Linked DNA regions of Homo sapiens: all the other regions are linked to region 4. The links are contacts of gene promoters, found by promoter capture Hi-C in blood cells and fetal thymus (Javierre and others, 2016). All regions are on one chromosome and are shown on one strand. The core of a region is centred on a gene start or on the middle of the fragment in contact, and the rest is flanking DNA. Distances in the headings are between cores, read along the strand shown. Region 1 overlaps FASTKD1 (FAST kinase domains 1). Region 2 overlaps KLHL41 (kelch like family member 41). Region 3 overlaps FASTKD1 (FAST kinase domains 1). Region 4 holds the start of UBR3 (ubiquitin protein ligase E3 component n-recognin 3).

Region 1 (5,268 bases), core at 447-2,946, 260 kb before region 4:
TGCAGTGGCACAATCTCAGGTCACTGCAACCTCCACCTCCCAGGTTCAAGTAATTCCTGTGCCTCAGCCTCCCGAGTAGCTGGGATTACAGGCGCCCGCCACCATGCCCAGCTAATTTTGTATTTTTTGTAGAGATGGGATTTTTGCCATGTTGGCCAGGCTGGTCTCGAACTCCTGACATCAAGTGATCCACCCACTTCGGCCTCCCAAAGTGCTGGGATTACAGGTGTGATCCACCATGCCTGGCCAATGAATTCATACTTAATTTAAATACTTCTTGGGTTTACTTCATGATATAATAATAATACCTACTATCCATTACTGAGAAACTTCTATGTTCTAGATACTTATTCAGAGGCCATTTTCAGTGGGTTTCTGACTGCCTTTGTTCAGAACTATCTTTTCAAGGATGTTTGCATAGCAAACAGCCTAGGAGAATAGAGATAATGTCTCCTGTTGGAGCAGAGTAGGCATGCTTTATTATAAAAGATTCAGGTTTCCTAAGCTCAGAGCTCCTCTCCTGGATCACAACCCATTATGGGAACGAGAGCTCAGGGAATCAACACAAGAAAATTCTGGTACTCTGCTACTGCTATTGCTATAAAAAACAAAGTCCTCTCTCTGACCTCGGAGTCTCAGGCCTTCCTACGGCACACGTAGGAAAATGTGGCAGGCAAACTTAGCTTGCAAATAGGTAAAAACTCAGATCCTCCACAGACCTCAACAATATTGTATTACACTTTATGTACCTTATGTCTAATCCCCACAGCAATATTGCAAAGTAGCTATTACTATCCCTCTTTTGCAGATGAGGATAACGAACTTCCAAGAGCTTAAGTAACCTTAAGTCACATAAACTAAGAGTAGCAAATCTGACTGCATCCACATCCAAAGCCCAGGATCTTTCCACCACAACACAAGATTCCCTAAATAAATTTACCTTAAGTCCTGTGTGGTTTCCAAGTTCCTATGAACAATATCAGCTATTTTTCCCATTAATGGACTAAAATACAAATGCTGATCTGCTAGGCAAGAGGAAAATTCTGAGAGCAGTTTAATATCAAACCTATTAAAGGAAATATACAAAGGAGAACATTAGTATTTACTTTCACTTAAAACACATAATATATAGTTATAAAATTAAAAGCAATCAAAATAGTAAATTACATAAAATTTTTTTTCTAAAATGTTATTATTATAAAAGTAACATGGCAACAGTTAAAAAGTCAGATACTGTAGAAAGGTTTTGAAAGGGGGAAAATCACTAAAAATTATTTGAATGATTTACTTAATTTTTTTAGATGACAGAACAATTTTGACTCAAGGTTGCATATTAACAAATATAATGGCTGCTACTACAACAGTGCTATGAATTTTTTTAATAGGAGAAATAATCCAATTTCTTCAACAAGAAAATGGCAAGACAAAAGAGAGGAAAAAGGAACTGTTATAGATTTTATGACTTTGAATTCACTAAAAAACAAGCATAAGAAAATTCACAGCAACACATATGTAATAGCAAAACCCTGCAAAAAACCCGAATGTCCATCAAGAGTACAATGGATAAACTGCACATACTCATACAATAGAATAAAATTATGGAATCATACAACATAATGGATAAATCCTTAAAACATACTGAGCAAACTAAACTATAAGGGTACATACTATAGGATTCCATTTCTATAGAAACAATTTATGGTGTTAGAGGTCAAGATCCTTTTTGGGTGAGAGGACTAGAAGAGAACATGAAAAGAACTAATGATGTTGTTTCCTTATCTTGGTGCTGTTACATAGCAATGATCAGTATATTAAAATTCATCATGCTGTATGCTTATGACTAGTATAATTTTTATACATTATTTTTCTGTAAAGTTTATTTAAAAAGAAACAAAAAAATTTAAGAGACACAGTAATTGTGAACCTTACTCAGAAACTGATTTAAATAAACTGCCTATAAAAAGACCTTTATAAGACAATCAACAAAATTTGAACACAGACAAGGTACTAGGTAATATCGAAAATTTAAATTTATCAATTTTATTATGTTTTTAAGACACAGTGTCTCACTGTGTTGCCCAGGCTGAACTTGAACATCTAGGCTCAAGTGATCCTCCAACCTCAGCATTTTTATTAAAATTAAAAAAAAAATTTTTTTTGTGGGTACATAGTAGGTACATATATTTATGGGGTACATGAGATATTTTGATACAAGCATGCAACGCAAAATAAACACATCATGAAAAATGGAGTATCCATTCCCTCAGGCATTTATCCTTTGAGTTACAAACAATCCAATTACGTTCTAAGTTACTTTAAAATGTATAATTAAGTTATTATTGACTATAGTCACCCTGTTGTGCTGTCAAATAGTAGGTCTTATTCATTTTATTTTTTTTTACCCATTAACCATCCCCACCTCCCCCACAATCGCCCGTTACCCTTCCCAGCCTCTGGTAACCATCGTTCTGCTCTCTACGTCCATTAGTTCAATTGTTTTGATTTTTAGCTCCCACAAATGAGTGAAAGCATGCGACGTTTATCTTTCTGTGCCTGGCTTATTTCACTTAACATAATAATCTCCAGTTCCACCCATGTTGCAAATGACAGGATATCATTTTTTTTACGGCTGAATATTACCCCATTGTGTATATATACCACATTTTTCTTTTTTTTTTTTTTTTTTGAGACGCAGTTTCGCTCTTGTTGCCCCAGGCTGGAGTGCAATGGCGCGATCTCGGTTCACTGCAACCTCCGCCTCCCAGGTTCAAACAATTCTCCTGCCTCAGCCTCCCGAGTAGCTGGGATTACAGGCATGCACCACCATGCCCAGCTAATTTTGTATTTTTAGTAGAGACAGGGTTTCTCCATGTTGAGGCTGGTCTCGAACTCCTGACCTCAGGTAATCAGCCCGCCTCGGCCTCCGAAAGTGCTGGGATTACAGGCGTGAGCCACCACACCAGGCTTTTTTTTTTTTTTTTTTTTTTTTTTTTTTTGAGAGGGAGTCTCGCTCTGTCACCCAGGCTGGAGTGCAGTGGCGCGATCTCGGCTCACTGTAAGCTCCGCCTCCCGAGTTCACGCCATTCTCCTGCTTCAGCCTCAGGAGTAGCTGGGACTATAGGCGCCCGCCACCACGCCCGGCTAACTTTTTGTATTTTTAGTAGAGACGGAGTTTCACCTTGTTAGCCAGGATGGTCTCGATCTCCTGACCTCATGATCCGCCCGCCTTGTCCTCCCAAAGTGCTGGGATTACAGGCGTGAGCCACCGCGCCCAGCCACCACATTTTCTTTATCCATTCATCTGTTGATGGACACTTATGTTGCTTTCAAATCTTAGCTATTGTATACAGTGCTGCAATAAACGTAAGAGTACAGATATCTCTTCAATATATTGATTTCCTGTCTTTTGGGTATATACCCAGGCAGTGGGATTACTGGATCACATGCTAGCTCAATTTTTAGTTTTTGGGGGAACCTCCAAACTGTTCTCCATAGAGCTTATACTAATTTACATTCCCAAAAACAGTGTGCAGGGTTCCCTTTTCTCCACATCCTTGCCAGCATTTGTTATGGCATGTCTTTTGGATATAAGCCATTTTAACTGTGGTGAGATGATGTCTCATTGTAGTTTTGATTTGCATTTTTCTGATGTTGCACCTTTTCATATGCCTGTTTGCCATTTGCACGGGTCTTTTGAGAAATCTCTACTCAAATCTTTTGCCCATTTTTTGATTGGATTATTAGACTTTTTCCTAATTAGAGTTGTTTGAGCTCCTTATATATTCTGGTTATTAATCCCTTGTCAGATGGGTAGTTTGCCAATATTTTCTACCCTTCTGTGTACTCTCGCTTCACTTTGTTGATTGTATCCTTTGCTGTGCCACCTCAGCCTTCTGAGTAGCTGAAACTACAAGCGTGTGCCACCACGCCCAGCTGGTTCTATATTTTTAAAAAGTCCTTAGAGAAACATACTGAGGTATTTAAAGATGAAATGATATTATTTAAAATATACTGAAGTATACTGAGAGTGGGAGGGGATATAGATAAAACAAGACTGGCTATGTGTTGACAATTGTTGAAGCTGGAGGATGGGTACATGGGAATTCGTTGTACTACTCTTTCTCCTTTTGTAAATGTTAAAAATATTCTATAATAGAAAGTTTTTTAAAAAAAATTTGGATTTCTTGGGAGGCCAAGGTAGGAGGATTCCTTGAGCCCAGGAGTTCAAGACCAACCTGGCAACATGGCGAAATCCCATCTCTACTAAAAATATAAAAATTAGCTGGGCGTGGTGGCATCCACCTGTGGTCCCAGAAACTTGGGAGGCTGAGATAGGACGATGGCTTGAGCCTGGAAGTCTGAGGCTGCAGTGAGCCCTGGTTGTACCACTGTACTCCACCCTGGGTAACAGAGCCAAACCCTATCCCAAAAGAAAAAAATATATATGGATTTCAAATACATGTTAATTATCCTTGCCATGATTCATCATATAGTACTAATCCAGAATAATCTACCCCATTTAAATCATTACAAATTATATTTATAAAACAGGCTGGGCACAGTGGCTCACACCTGTAATCCCAGCACTTTGGGAGGCCAAGGTGGGCAGATCACGAGGTCAGGAGTTTGAGACCAGCCTGGCCAATATGGTGAAACCCTGTCTCTACTAAAAATACAAAAATTAGCTAGGTGTGGTGGCAGGTGCCTGTAGTCCCAGCTACTTGGGAGGTTGAGGCAGGACAATCACTTGAACCCAGGAGGCGGAGCTTGCAGTGAGCTGAGATCACACCACTACGCTCCCGCCTGGGCAACAGAGCGAGACTCTGTCTCAAAAAAAAAAAAACATAAGTTTATAGATATTTTAGCAAGATCATTGTACTTCTGAGTTATTTTGAAATAAAGAAAAATTTAAAAGAAATGCTTGATTCACTATAAAATACAATCATACATGTAATTTAATTAATACAGTAATTATAAAACACAAAAGACCACCTATTTTACAAGTGATTTGTTCAAGCTGCATAATACACATAACGTATCCTTGCTTTGAAGAGAAATAAAATGTTGTGACCTATTATCAACAAATCTAACCCCAAAGATCCAGTAAATAGATAATTTGTACTGTTAGCAAAAGGAATAAGATTACTCTGCTTACCCTCAATATACTTATAGGTAGAGAGTATAAAAGAAGACAGATGGGTTTAGCTAATAAGATTAACTTAAAATCACAACTTAGTAGATTAATACAGAATTTCTAAATCTGGAGAA
Region 2 (5,194 bases), core at 2,178-4,677, 300 kb before region 4:
AAAAGTTTGTTTTTATTTTATTTTGAACTGAGATCGCGCCACTGCACTCCAGCCTCAGCTACAGAGCGAGTCTTAAAAGAAAAAAAAAAAAAGAAAAAAGAAACACAGAATCCCAGACCCTACTGAATGAGAATCTGTATTTTTTAACAAGATTCTTAGGTGAATTGTTTGCACATTTAAGTTTATAAGTACAGCTTTGGAAGAGTGCCATTTATACTTAATCAGTGAAGGCATACCACTAAGCCTGAGAGTGAAAAGTGGGTATTATTTGTTCTATACCTTAACCAGCAGATGCTTTATTCCCAGATGCTGAACTAAAAAGGCTGAAAAGCTGGTACCTTAACCAAACAATGATTTGTGCATTAGACATCATTTCCCCATGTTGTAATATTAACTAGCTGTGTAGAGGGCAAGAAAAAAAGTGGCTATGCAAGGAAATTAACTACTTTCCCTCCTCCCCCCAAAAAAGAGGGAGAAAGAGAAAAAAAATGAGATTTCCACGGAGCAAAGAGGCTAGAATTAGCAAAACAGTGAGATGGGGAAAAGCTGGAAGCAGTAGGAAAAAAGGATGAACTAATGAAGGCCGGGAAGGTTAGGGTTTTTTGGAAAACAGGGCCAGGTACCAAATATATAAATGGGCAGTGATTCTCAACCCTAGCTGTATGTTACAATCATCTGGGATGCTTTTAAAATATACCAGTGTCTGGGCCTTAACACAGACCAATTATATCAAAATTTCTGGAGGTAGAGTTGAGCATCCCTAGTTCCTAAAACCTTCCCAGTGATTTTTTTTTTTTTTTTTTTTTTTTTTTTTTTTGGTGAGACAGAGTCTCACTCTGTCACCCAGGCTGTAGTGCAGTGATGTGATCTTGGCTCATTGCAACCTCCAGCTCCTGGGTTCAAGCGATTCTCCTGCCTCAGGCTCTGGAGCAGCTGGGACTACAGGTGTGCACCACCATGCCCGGCTAATTTTTGTATTTTTAGTAGAGATGGGGTTTCACCATATTGGCCAGGCTGGTCTTGAACTCCTGACCTCAGGTGATCCACCCACCTCAGCCTCCCACAGTGCTGGGATTACAGGCGTCAGCCACCGAGCCCAGCCCCAGATGATTCTAATCAGCAGCCAGGGTTGAGAAACACTGATATTAAGTAATTGTGCTGTCAATCAGTGGGACCTCCCTGAAGCCCTCCTGGTTCCTAAGGGTTATCAAAAGCCATGCTGCCCCTGCAGGGAACAGTTACAGGCAGCAAAAGAAAGTACAGAATCTCCTGCTATAAAAGTGGCCCTGACATTGTTTAGGGAACCTAAAAGAGGGATCCTCTCTGATTGTGGTTTATTTTGCGATTAGAGCAGTGGTTCCCAAAGTTGCCTGCACGTTCGAATCACCAGGGTGCTTCAAAAAATATTAACACCTCTATCCCACTTATATTGACTGCAATTTAATTGGTCTGAAGTATGGCCTGGGCTTTGGAAATTTTAAAAGATCCATGGATGTTTCTATATGTGTAGACAAGTTTGGGAACCACTGGATTGGGTAAAGAGAAGAGGGGGGCATTCATCACTATCTGCTTGGCTATTTTGAGACTGGTATTTCCTAATTTGGGGTAGGATCTGGAGCATGATTCTCAAACTTTGCTGCATATTAGAAACACTTGGGGAGCTTTAAAAAATCCTGATGCCCAGGCCACCCTTCATACCAATTAACTCAATCTCTGAGAGTAGGACCTAGGCATCAGTATCTTTAACATCTCCAGCTGGTTCTATTGGCAATTAAGTTTGAGAACCTGTAATCTACTACAGTGGTTCCCAAAGCAGCATCAGCCTCACCTGGGTACTTATCAGAAAGGCAGATTCTCAGGTCTCACTTCAAATCTGTTAAATTAGAAACTCTGGGGGTGATAGGGCCAGCGATCTGTGTTTGCACAAACCCTCCAGGTGACTTAGATGTGTGTTAAAGTTGAAGGCCGCCGATCTAGAGAAACGTGGCTGCCTATTTGCCCTCAATTTCCTAGTGAACCTCCCTAACCACACATGCAGAGGTGAAAACTCTCAGTATACAACATTCTCAACATAGACCCTCTTACTATACGTAAAAAAAAAATTCCATTCTTGTATTTTTTTCTTGAAATCATTCCATTATTTAGGATTGACCAAGCTGAAAGTAAATATAACTGCCAGGAAGCAAACATTTTTAAACCTCATTTAACCTTAACCTCATATTGTTTAAATGTGGTCACTTTCTTTAGGTCATTTAAAACTATTATTTATCTCTTAATTTGTTGCCCTGAATTTTATGTAATTAAGGTTATTCCCTTTATTAGTAGCAAAATATTTTTTGTATGCTTTCCTCTACATAAAAATCAGTGCATGGTACAATTATTGAGAACTAATTTGGAACATTGATGAAATTAAGTCAGAGCATGTCTTATGTAGGTACAAGCTAATTTTAATAATTATTTTAAATCTCCATTCATCACAGAATGATTTGGGGTAAATCTTTTTTTTTTTTTTTTTTTTTTGAGATGGAGTCTTGCTGTGCAATCTTGACTCACTGCAACCTCCGCCTCCCGGGTTCAAGCAGTTCTCTTGCCTCAGCCTCCGGAGTAGCTAGGATTACAGACGCACACTACCATGCCTGGCTAATTTTTATATTTTTAGTAGAGACGGGGTTTTGCCATATTGGCCGGGCTGGTCTCAAACTCCTGATCTCAGGTGACCTGCCCCCCTCGGCCTCCCAAAGTGCTGGGATCACAGGTGTAAGCCACCACACCTGGCTGATTTGGGGTTGTCTTGTGCCAGGTCTTGACAATTTGTGGAGAGATATTAATATATTATTTGTCCTCAGATGCCTTTGAGGCTTGAGGACATTGATATGGGGGGGGGAATTAAAATGGAGTGATAATTGCTATAATACCATATAAAGGATGATATGAGAAAGAGAAAGCAACAAACTGTGCTTAAGGAAGGTGAGAAAGGTTTCAGAGAGAAGGCGGCATTTAGAAGCTTCCCACACAAAGAAAATATTCCAGGCACCAGGCAGAGCAGACATGTTCAGCACACATCGTACAAGGGAATTCAAGTTATCTGTATCTTTATAACCTTGAATATTCAGAGATGAAGACCAGTTCTTACCTAAGTCAAGTGCAAAGTCTAAGAGTAGTCCTCAAACAGAACAATAAAGGGGAAGGGGAACAAATTTTCATAAAGTGACAGCTGTGTATCAGGTGCCATGCTAGGCACTAGTGTATAGGAACAATTGAAGGCATAATTAAGTCTACCGATAGTCCCTGCTCTTCCTCAGTTCTTTCTCTTAAGCAAGAGTCTGCTTACTTTGACTCAGAGACCAGCCATCTTCATCAATTCAAAGGTGAATGAATGTTTAACTGCTTAGCTATTTATTCCTCTTCTCTGCAGTCTTTGATTCCCAGAGAATGCTGAACTGCCTAGGCATCCAGATTAAATACTGTGGCAGTAGTTCAGGCACATGCTCATCCAGACAATGCATATTTGGGAGATATTTAAGTTCTGTTCTACCAGGCAGGTGCATCTTCTTCTGAGTAAGAGCCACTAGGGTTTTTTCAAAGATCCACATTTGTATTCTGAACACAGGGAAACCTATGGAACTAAAGCTGCTTATTGATTACTTTTTTTTTCCTCCATCAGGTATGAAGATGATAAAAAAGAATGGGCTGGGATGTTGAAGGAAATACGTTATGCTTCAGGAGCTAGTTGCCTAGCAACACGTTTAAATCTCTTCAAACTGTCTAAACTGTGAACAAGGTGACAAAACATAATAGATTGGGAGGTGGTTTGTTTGGTGAATGGGGCTTTAATTTATTCTGTTTTTTAAAAGCTTGTACAGACACTCATGTAGAAATTATTCAAGAAGTTATTGTCTAAGAGATGAGCAGTAGGTAAGAAAACCTCAGTCATTGACTCTTCAATGTAATGATCAGAGTTTAAAACCATTTTCTAATAATAAATTAAATCTTCAGTTGAACAAATTATTTTGTGAATCTGTTTCACTCAATGGATTGTAAAGAAGGCTCCTAAATTTGAGTTGTTTGCTAATCATTTCATTTGCATCATTAGGGTATCCTTAAACTGATTTTCTATTACAATTGGAAGTGGAGAATATGTGCATCTACACTAAAAAAATGTTTAAGATATCAAAAACCTCTCCTCGTGCTTCAAAATGACAGGAATCCTGTGCATTATACTAAGAATTACATGCCATAAGATGACTTCAGAAATCCTACTTCAGAAGTGTAATAAATGGATGGGGAAATCGTTTGATGGGGAAAAGTCTCTTGTAAGTAAAAGTAGTCAAATTCAAATGGCCTTTTCTCTCCATTCTTTTTGCGACACTGGCGTATTATTTGTGGTTTCCAAATCAAATTTTTAAAATTTTAATTTAAAACCAGTAAATCACAGTCTTCAAGCCATTAACTACAGCATCTGTGGCAGGAGGGTGAGGGAGCACCCTTAGGAAATGGATTGATTCTTTAAACTGCTGGGACAGCAGTTGGGGTCAGTGGGTGATGTGGAGGAGGAAGTGTATTCACTGGTTTAAATTTTGGCTACACTCCATGAAAGGGCTACCTATTTGCTAAATTTCTGACAGCAAGGAAGGTGACTGTATTATTTCATTTTCTGGGATGTGATATCCTCCATTCACTGTTCCTTCTTAGTGCATATAGTAAGTTGACTCCTCAATCTGCTCATAACCATCACATTCAACTCTGTGCAAGTCATCAATTAATCATCACTTTTAGCCACACACCAACTTATGAGTCTCACATAGCTTTCATAGACATATATTTGACTTCTATCCTTACCCATATTATTTTCTGAAAAACCTGACTTGGGACTAATTTGGAACATTCATGATTATTTGTCAAGGAGTTGCATAAAGAACAGATCTAAGTGTCCATACACCTTTTTTTCTCTACCATAAATACAGAAATATATTTAACAGAAACAAGTTTTATTTTGGGTATTTAAAGTAGAATCCTGATTACTTTTCTATATTGAAAAATACTTTTCTTAAATTATAGCATGAATACAGAATCATGAAATTCCCAAAGTGGAAAATCCTACAGGTTCTTCAACAAATAAACTGTTAGGAAGAGGAAGGGGCACTTATAAAGACAGACTCAAAAGTGTAGAGGAAGAGGGGGCCACAGGGATAAT
Region 3 (5,295 bases), core at 2,326-4,825, 280 kb before region 4:
AGGTGATTCAATTTGAATAAATTCACAGTATTATACTAAAGTTATACGAACATTTGTTATTACACTTTAGTAAGAAGTTTTAAAAATAGCCTTGGAAAAAGAATCCAAAACAAAAGGACAGTGGTGCATGTAAAAAGAAGTGATCCCAGTGTTGATGATAATAATACAATAGTGTTCAGAATATGTTACATACCATTCTAAACACTTTAGATATATTAACTCACTTATATCTTATATCAGTAGAAACAATTATCTCCACTTTATAAATAAGCATTAGGAAGCAGAGAGGTTAAATGACTTGCCCAAGATCAGAGTTGGCAGCGGAGAGTAGGGTTTAACCCAGAATGTCCAGCTCTGGAGCCTGGATTATTATACTATGCTGCTCTCTGGGAATCTCAGATCTCCAAGCAGAGTGTACACATGTTTGAGGCTGAGGTCTTGCCTAGCACCTGCTCCTTTACTTGTCACCCAGCAGCATGGCAGATGCCCCACAGTATAAGGCTTCAACTATTTACCTGATTTGCCTCATCCAAGAGACATTTCTAATGTGGCGGAAAGGGTCACCTAAAATGCCTGACTGGCATAGGTATTCTTACTAAGGACAGAAGAGACAACATTAAATCTTTCCTTTTCAATTTTTTCTAAGTTTATTTAATAAAGAAAGACCAGATCATAAATGAAGTTAATAGTGATGATTTCTACCAGCAAAACTAATCTGTCAAAATTCGTCTTTACTCAAAACAATGAAAATTATTACTCCATTAGTTATTTAAAATTTTACTTATAAAGTTCCCTAGGAATTTTTAAAACTTTCTCTGATTAAGTTTTAAAAACTCAAAGCTGTACTTCTCAATCTTTCTTTCCTTATACTCTTTAGCAACAAAATTTTCTAATTTCTAAGACTCTATTTGGAGAACCTGGGAAGAGATGCACTTTCATTTCCTTCTGGTTGTCAACACATGACTGAACAACCAGGAGAATACAGTCTAAGTCTCAATTTAAAGTCTCATCTTTCTACATATAGTTGTGTTACTAAAAAGGGGTATAAATGTATACCATACATGCAACACATTCATATACATATATACATACATATATCCCAGCCTCACGTTGTAGGCTGTGACACAGTAGTATCAGACATGGTTAGATGCTGTCTGGCCCATAGATCCCACAAAAATGTAGCAAAGTCCATTAGCATGATGCAGACACAATTAATATATTTATACTTGCTTCATACCAGCTTCACCAGAGGTCTAAAGATCTATATAAATCCCTAATGTAGAGCCTAACATGTTATGCTGGATATGGAAGCTCTCAGTATCTGTTGCTTGGTAGATAACTGGGTAATTCTTACTCTCCAGGCAGAGCAAAAAGATCTGAGGAAACCAGTCTCTGGCTGTCTCTCCAACTTTATCTCCTACCAACTCGGTCTCCCTCATCTACTCCTGCCACACTGAATCCACTGTTCCTGGAAAAAAACCAAACATGCTCTCACCCGAGGGCCCTTTCCAGTTCCCTTTCTTTCATCCTGGGACTCTCTTCCCTAACTCTTGACATGCATCACTCTCTCAATTCATTTAATCCATGGTTAAATGACATCTCCTCAGAGAGGCAGTCCCTGAATCCCTTATCCAAAATAGCACTCCATCTCACACTTACCATGATGCTCCAGCCTACACACTTACCCTGCTCTAATGTTCTTGAAGGTACTTATCACCATCTGACCTTAGAGCCTTGTTTATTGTTTATGTCAATCTCCCCCTAACAGAAAGTAAACTCGATCATGGTAGTTTATCTGTTTTTACTCTCTCCTGTATCTCCAGCGCCTAGAAGAATACCTGACAGTAAGTACATGGAAAGTGTTGACTGAAAAGGAACGGTTACTGAGCATTTCTCCTCTAAAGCTTCTATATCATACTGACAAGTACATAGTGTGAGTCTGAGAAGAAAAGTCTCATAAAGCTCTAATCCTTCAAGGTCAAACTGTTCCAAACACAACTCAGGACCCAAAATAAAAAGGAAAAGGAAAAGGAAAAAGAAAAAGTAATTTCCTGTCTCTGCTGTCCTCACATATTGCTTCTGCTAAGGCTAACAGCAGGAAGGACTATTTCTATTCTACTTTTTTCTAGTACTGAAATATTACCAAAAGACTTTTCTGGCCAGGTGTGGTGGCACACGCCTGTAATTCCAGCACTTGGGAGGCTAAGGTGGGAGGACCGCTTGAGCCCAGGCATTTGATATCAGCCTGGGCAACGTAGCAAGACCCCATCTCTAAATTTAAAAGATAATTTTTTTAAAGACCTTTTTAAGAGATGCAAAATAATCAGCATAAGAGCAGCAACCCTTCAAACAATTTACAAACATCTATTAAGGTTCTTAAGAAACATTTTTTTACTTTTAAAAAACAATCTGGCAAGACTCCGTCTCAAAAAGAAAACCAAAATCTAAATAGACAGAAACAATCAGACATTATGTGCCTCCAGATGTGATCTAAATATAAGGTATACAGCACTACATACAAGTTATTTTTGCTGCAAATGTTTAATCTGAACCTAACCAAGCATCTATACCTAATTTCTAGTTTACTACAAATGCAGGAGATGGAGAAGCAAGTTACAGGAAAACAATCAGACAAATCCAGAATGTGGCACAATTTATAAGAAATGGCCAATCATTTTATAAAAATAAATATCAAGCAAAAAAGATGGAGGAAAAGACATAACTACTCAATGCTGGTTGTTTAAAAAAAAGTTATAGCCAGGCACGGTGGCTCACATCTGTAATCCCAGCACTTTGGGAGGCTGAGGTGGGTGGATCACCTAAAGTCGGGAGTTCGAGACCAGCCTGACCAACATGGAGAAACCCCGTCTCTACTAAAAATACAAAATTAGCTGGGCGTAGTGGCGCATGCCTGTAATCCCAGCTACTCGGGAGACTGAGGCAGGAGAATCGCTTGAACCTGGGAGGCGGAGGTTGCAGTGAGCCGAGATTGTGCCATTACACTCCAGCCTGGGCAACAAGAGCAAAACTCTGTCTCAAAAAAAAAAGTTATAAAAGATAATTTGGTGACTCGGGAAAATTTGATTACGGACTAGGTAGTAGATGGTACTTGTTCATTTTCTTTGGTACTGGTAATGATACCAGTATTGTAGTTACATAGGAGAACGTCCTTATAACCTGAAGTACACAGAGCTGACAACTGGAAGGTTCATCATACGCATACGCGCTTGTGCACATACACAGAGCAAATGTGGCAAATGTTAATCAATACTCAATCACGACTGTGGGGCTACAGTTCATTATTATACAGTTTATTATTATACAGATGTTTGTTGTATTGTTCAATTTTTCTGTATATTTGAAAACCTGGATAACAAAAAGTTAAGAAAAAAAAAAACCAAGTCAATGCCAAGAAAAGAAAAAAAGGAAACAAAATTCTAAACTATAAGAGACTGAAGAGATAACAACCAAACACAATGAGTGAATACTGGGTGCAAAACAACTACTCTAAAATGTATTTTGGTAACACTTAGGGAGACTGAAACATGAACTGTGTATTAGATATTAGGGGACTATGATTAAGTTTCTTAGGTGTGGCAACAGTATTGTGGTGGTACAGAAGAATGTCATTATTCTTAGGAGATGTATGCTAAAGTAATTAGGGATGGAGGGTCACAATGACTACAACTTTGAAATGGCTCAGAAAAAAATAAGAGAGTCAGAGAAACAAACGGATAAGGCAAACACTGTAAAATGTTAACATTATTGAATCTACACGGTGAGTATATATGTGTTCTTTGTTTAATTCTTTATACAAGTTTGACATTTTTCATAATTAAAATGGATACAAAGTTTTTATAGGGCCGGGCGCAGTGGCTCACACCTGTAATCCCAACACTTTGGGAAGCCTTGGCGGGTGGATCACCTGAGGTCAGGAGTTCCTGACCACCCTGGCCAACATGGTGAAACCCTGTCTGTACTAAAAATGCAAAAAATTAGCCGGGTGTGGTGGCACATGCTTATAGTCCAAGCTACTGGGGTGACTGAGGCAGGAGAATCACTTGAACCCAGGAGACAGAGGTTGCAATGAGCCAAGATCGCACCACTACACTCCAGCCTGGGCGACAGAGCAAGACTCTGTCTCAAAAACAAACAAACAAACAAAAAACCTTTTTTTAGGTAGATAATTCATGTCTATTATGGTTACCCTTTAAATGAGGGACATCTCCTAGCTCAGCAGCAACAAGTATCCTCTGACTTATTCACTCAATGTATTACCAAACAATATACCTACCTAAGTAAGAATTAAGATGTTGCACGCAAGTTCCCAAAAATTCATCCCTTTGAGGTGGATCATAGTTCAATACGCTGAATGGACGAATAATAGCAGGGATTGTAAAAGGATGGATCTGTATAAAAAGAACAAAAAATTTATAGTTTAAACTTTAGGAAAATAAGACAAAATTTTAACCTAATTATTTTTTAGGAGAAATCTTTTCCTATCATCGCTACAGTTAAATAATAAATGTATCACCCTGCTTATTAATTTTTCCATCCTGCTATAATTTATTTAACCCCACCAACATTATTAATAACCCCAAAAGTGTTAATGTAACAAAAAAGAAGTAAATCAGATAATTTACAAATTTATTTTGTTAGGTGTAAAATTCTGTTCTGGCTGGGAGTGGTGGCTCATGCCTGTCATCCCAACACTTTGGATGGCTGAGGTGGGAGGATTGCTTGAGGCCAGGAGTTCGAGATTAGTCAGGGCAACATAGTGAGACCCTGTCTTTATTTAAATTTAAAATAAGTAAATAAATTCTGTTTCAGAATTCATTAGTCACTAAATTGAATAGGAAACAGTATCAGCAATTTCCATGATAATCAGTACATTTTATAGAATAATCATAATTAAAGAAGTTTCTTAAATTATAATCACTAGCATTTATTTTTCTTTCATTTGCTTTTTTATTTCATTTTTCACTCATTCATCCAATACTTAATGACTTCCAGGCACTATACTAAGCAAGTTAAGACAAACTTTTTATTTTCATTTGTGAGAAACACTGTCTTTTAAATAAAGGCCTTGCCCTGATATATTTATGATAGTGATTTTGTAAGTGAGCTGCTTCTCACATAATCCATAAAGCGGCATTTTACAAGTCCCAGAAATAAATCTGCAAGAAGATGCAATGACAGTTTAAGAATATAGTTGCCAATGGATACCTTATAATTTTCTCAGTTTTCAAGCTTATCTCACACTTTTGAATATAATTGTTTTTAAATGGTAAAAAT
Region 4 (4,884 bases), core at 910-3,409:
TCCCAATTTTTAGGTCATTTGTGTCACTTGCAATTCTCACAGGAGTGGTGATGTCAAAGAAACCCAAAGAAGAGATAGTGGAGAGGCAGGGCGCGGCGGCTCACGCCTGTAATCCCAGCACTTTGGGAGGCCGAGGTGGGTGGATCACGAGGTCAGGAGATTGAGACCATCCTGGCTAACACGGTGAAACCCTGTCCCTACTAAAATTACAAAAAAATTAGCCGGGCTTGGTGGCGGGCGCCTGTAGTCCCAGTTACTCGGGAGGCTGAGGCAGGAGAATGGCGTGAACCCGGAAGGCGGAGCTTGTAGTGAGCCGAGATCAAGCTACTGCACTCCAGCCTGGGAGACAGAGCGAGACTCCGTCTCAAAAAAAAAAAGACAGTGGAAATGAAAATAAAAGAATAGGTAGTGGTGTCAAATACTGGAAAGAGGTCGGGCTTCATAAAGTAGGAGCAGAAATTAAGTTGTAGCAGATTGTGGAGCGAATGGAAATTTAGGAAGAAGAAAGAGTAAATGTGAACAATTAAACGTGGCCCCGGAAGCGGTGGCTCACCCCTGTGATCCCAACATTTTGGGAGGCCGAGATGGGCGGATTGCTTGAGACGGGAGTTTGAGACCAGCCTGGGCAACATAAGGAGACCCTGTCTCTACTAAAAATACAAAAATTAGCTGGGTCTGATGACGCGAGCCTGTGGTCCCAGCTGCTCGGGTGGCTGGGGTGGGAAAATCGCTTGAGCCCGGGAGGCAAAGCTTCCAGTGATCTGAAATTGCGCCACTGCACTCCAGTCTGGTCGACAGTGAGACCCTGTCTCAAAAAAAAAAAAAAAAAAAAGAAAGAAGAAAAGAAAGAGAAAGAGAAAGGTGGCCTACGAAAAGAATGGTTGGATGCTTAGTAATGGGGGAAGCTTTATTATTTTTTCAATTATTTTTAAGACAGGAGGAGACAAATTCTGACAAGAATTGAGCTAATAGAAAGAGAGGGGTTAAAAATGCAAGAGGATATTGGATGGAGTTGGGATCCTGAGAAGGCAGGATCCAGTGGTTAAGTAAAAGGATTGCAGGATTGCGTTTAAGCCTGTGGATGGACACCTCTTTGCATTATTATAGGAAGAAGAAAAAGAGTGAATGGACGATGACGAAGTAGAGAAGTGTCTGAGGCTGCTACTTCTAGGAATAGCAGAATTCAAAGTTATCTGTTATGAGAATCAAATGAGTTAAAACATACAAAGTTTTAGCATGTAAAGTTAATACATAAAGTTTTATTTAGTTTATAATTTAGTGATTCGTAAAATTATTGAGCAAATTTAACTTATCACTGTTATATGATGATCGTGACATACTTAACTCATGTAGAAGACCAGGAATAACCTGTTTTAATTATGTTTCATTCATTTCAAACACAAGGTTATGGATTGGAAACACTCCTGTTCTTCTTTGTTGTTGTTGTTGTTGTTGTTGTTTTTAGAGACGGAGTCTCGCTTTGTCACCCAGGCTGGAGTGCAGTGGCGCGATCTCGGCTCACTACAACCCCCGCCTCCTGGGTTCAAGTGATTCTCCTGCCTCAGCCTCCGGAGTAGCTGGGATTACAGGCGTGCGCCACCATGCCCGGCTAATTTTTGTATTTTTAGTAGAGACAGGGTTTCACCATGTCAGCCAGGCTGATCTCAAACTCCTCACCTCAAGTAATCCGCCTGCCTCGGCCTCCCAAAGTGCTGGGATTACAGGCGTGAGCCACCGCGCCTGGCCTTCTGTTCTTCTTTGGATTGCTTTTCCTACAGTTTTTGTTTTCCTTAAGTTGGGGTTTCATTCTGTCGCCCGCTGGACTTTGATAACAGTAGGAATGTACATCTCAGACAAAATGCAGATGCCTAAAGTACATCTGAAAGATGATGTGAATAATTCCTGTAGTCTATGCAAATAAAGAAATAATTGCCCTTATTAAAGATTTCCTATAAGGTGAGTACTTTATTTCAGTAGCTCTTAACTTAGAAAGTTGGGAGCCTAGCTTGGTCCACAGGCGCCCAGGAGAGAGGGGCGGGAGGAAGGCTCTGCAGCCCGAGGGGGCGTGTGTAGGGGCGGGGCTGCGGGCGGAGGAGCGCGGACGCTCCGGGTATCGCGAGAGTTGGGCGGGCCGAGCAATCGCAGCAGTCTATTCCCTCACTCTCCCTGGAGGAGCCGCTGGCCCTGGACTCTCCAAATTCTGAGCTCTCATCATGGCGGCGGCGGCCGCGGCGGCCGTCGGGGGCCAGCAGCCGTCACAGCCCGAGCTGCCCGCGCCGGGGCTGGCCCTAGACAAGGCGGCCACCGCCGCGCACCTCAAGGCGGCCCTCAGCCGGCCGGACAACCGCGCAGGTGCTGAGGAGCTGCAGGCGCTGCTGGAGCGGGTGCTGAGCGCCGAGCGGCCGCTGGCCGCGGCTGCCGGCGGCGAGGACGCGGCGGCGGCCGGAGGCGGGGGCGGTCCGGGGGCGGCCGAGGAGGAGGCCCTGGAGTGGTGTAAGTGCCTTCTGGCGGGCGGCGGCGGCTACGACGAGTTCTGCGCGGCGGTGCGGGCCTACGATCCCGCGGCGCTCTGCGGCCTGGTCTGGACAGCCAACTTCGTGGCCTACCGCTGCCGGACGTGCGGCATCTCGCCCTGCATGTCGCTGTGCGCCGAGTGCTTCCACCAGGGCGACCACACCGGACACGACTTCAACATGTTCCGCAGCCAGGCCGGGGGCGCCTGCGACTGCGGGGACAGCAACGTGATGCGGGAGAGCGGGTGAGTGGAGCCCTCCCCGCGGGCGAGGCGACCCTGGGCCGGGGACGTCGCGGGAGGGCCTGGAGCGGAGCACTGGGAGCCCACTCTGAGCTGTCAAGGGGAGGGTGCGGGGGAGGGTGCAGCCACAGGGGGATGGAGGTGACTGAGCTGTCAGCGGTGGAAAGGGGGTGGGGAGGAGAAGGAGGGGAGAGGAGAGCGGAGAGCATGTTTAGGAAACCGGGCTGTGAATTTTGGGGAAGCCAGGGTGGGTAAATGATAGCGAGAAAAGAGCCAGTGTATGGGGTAGGAGGGGAGTGAGGGGAAATGATTTTTGGGGAAGCTCGTGTCGAGCTGTCAAGTGTGTACTTGTTGGGAAAGGCTGTAAAGCCTGGTTCTTGGGAAGAGACTTAGGTTGTGATTTGGATTGGCTGGGAGGGGATGTTATTGGGGACCGTATTGGCTCGCGGGATGATGAGAGCTGGGGAGGTGGTCTTGTACGTGCAGGGAAGGACGCTTGAGGAAAAGGTCTTCTGAACTGCCAGTGTGTCTGTCACTGTGAGAGAAGGAGCTCTTGAGGGTTGAGGGAGGAGGGAAGGGGAGGGGCCTGCATGAAAAGTGACTGTTGAGCTGTCAGTGGATTATTTGGTATGCTGGAATGACATTTAGAATTGGGCTACTGAGCAGTCAGTTACAGAATACCCTCCATACCAGGAGAACAAACAAAATACTGAGCGAACCAGGAATCAAGTGTTAGGTCTTCTCCAGTTAAGGGCACTTTGTTCACTCACTGATACGTGAACCTCTGTCTAAAAGGAGACAACAAATGCCCTTTTGACAGAAGCGATGCATCAGATGTTGGGACTTATGAGAAAAGACATTTCAGAGTTTGCAGTGAGTTACAGAGAGTTGGTACATGTAGGGTCGTGGCTTGGAACATGATGTCAATGTCAGGGACAGTCTGAGAAAAAAGGAAAAAGTGAAAGGGGCGATTTTGGATGGGCAGTAGTTGAAAGAATATTAGCAACTACAGGTTGCTATCAGTTATTAAACTTCTTCAATTTTCAGGTCTTAGGATTAATGACAGAGTACAATCTTTTTATAAATGGTCACCTTTTTCTTCGGAGTACTTGTAAGGTTACTGTTACTCCAAAATGTTTGTACCTACTATGTGCAAGCAAGGCTTCTTGGATATTAAAAATGAATGAAACATTGACCAACCCCTTACTCTACTTGCACTGGAGTAGAAAGTAATAAATTCCTTAAACAATAACTTGGTAGCTAGAGGAGGGAGATGAGGTTTCTGTGCAGAGGGAGTAAGAAAAAGTCTTCAGAAAGGAGGTATTTTGAATTTGCTAATAATAATAACAACATAATTGCAGCTAACATTTGAGTTTTTTTTTTTTTTTTTTGAGACGGAGTTTCTCTCTTGTTGCCCAAGCTGGAGTGCAATGGCGCGACCTCGGCTCACTGAAACCTCCGCCCCCTGGGTTCAAGCGATTCTCCTGCCTCAGCCTCCCAAGTAGCTGGGATTACAGTCATGCACTACCACGCCTGGCTAATTTTGTATTTTTTTAGTAGAGACAGGGTTTCTCCATGTCGGTCAGGCTAGTCCCGAACTCCCGACCTCAGGTGATCCGCCCGCGTCGGCCTCCCAAGTGCTGGGATTACAGGCGTGAGCCACCGCGCCCGGCCAACATTTGAGTTCTTGAACTGTATGTCTGATACTTTAAAAGTACTTTTTAAAATTTAATATTTGAATAGGTAAAATATATAGCTAAAAAGTACACACACACACACACACACACACACACACACACACACACGGAAGTTTTTCTCACATCTAGTCTTCTATCTGTCCAGTTCCTTCCCGCTTAGTTTCTCTTGGTGCAGAACAAGCAAAGATGTTTCCTAGTTTTTCAGTCTCTTTTTATGCAAAGGGTTACATACTTTCCACTGTTCTACATCTTGCATTTTTTGGTTATCTTAGATGTATTTTTCCTATTAAAAAATCAGTGTCGTCATTCTATTTTTTTAAAAAAACTGCTGCATAGTGTTCCATGTTTTCAATTTGCCATTCTTTAATTTCTTTTTTTATTTTTATTTTTATTTTTTGTGCGTGTGAATTTGCCATTCTTGATTTAATGTCT

The links. Contacts are between HindIII fragments. The CHiCAGO score rates a contact against its expected background, and 5 or more counts as called.
Region 1: a contact is called between a fragment that was not itself captured here and the fragment with the promoter of UBR3 in region 4, in 1 of 17 cell types (fetal thymus). The highest score is 8.2, in fetal thymus.
Region 2: a contact is called between a fragment that was not itself captured here and the fragment with the promoter of UBR3 in region 4, in 3 of 17 cell types (total B cells, total CD8 T cells and naive B cells). The highest score is 5.8, in total B cells.
Region 3: a contact is called between a fragment that was not itself captured here and the fragment with the promoter of UBR3 in region 4, in 1 of 17 cell types (non-activated CD4 T cells). The highest score is 5.5, in non-activated CD4 T cells.

The regions. Positions count from the first base shown.
Region 1 is chr2:169,562,285-169,567,552 of GRCh38, forward strand. It overlaps FASTKD1 (FAST kinase domains 1), which reads right to left. Exons shown (of 15, transcript NM_024622.6): 4 at 941-1,066. Among named protein-coding and RNA genes, the nearest start is that of FASTKD1, 8.9 kb to the right of the region's middle. The HindIII fragment of the contact is 7,307 bases long and covers 1-5,268 here.
Region 2 is chr2:169,521,921-169,527,114 of GRCh38, forward strand. KLHL41 (kelch like family member 41) reads left to right here. Exons shown (of 6, transcript NM_006063.3): 6 at 3,665-4,338. The coding sequence ends at 3,776. Among named protein-coding and RNA genes, the nearest start is that of KLHL41, 15 kb to the left of the region's middle. The HindIII fragment of the contact is 850 bases long and covers 3,003-3,852 here.
Region 3 is chr2:169,540,427-169,545,721 of GRCh38, forward strand. It overlaps FASTKD1 (FAST kinase domains 1), which reads right to left. Exons shown (of 15, transcript NM_024622.6): 9 at 4,295-4,409. Among named protein-coding and RNA genes, the nearest start is that of FASTKD1, 31 kb to the right of the region's middle. The HindIII fragment of the contact is 3,346 bases long and covers 1,903-5,248 here.
Region 4 is chr2:169,825,295-169,830,178 of GRCh38, forward strand. UBR3 (ubiquitin protein ligase E3 component n-recognin 3) reads left to right here and starts at 2,160. Exons shown (of 39, transcript NM_172070.4): 1 at 2,160-2,758. The coding sequence starts at 2,214. RefSeq lists silencers at 157-360, 1,954-2,513, 2,774-2,903 and enhancers at 3,921-4,422, 4,423-4,884. The HindIII fragment of the contact is 16,279 bases long and covers 904-4,884 here.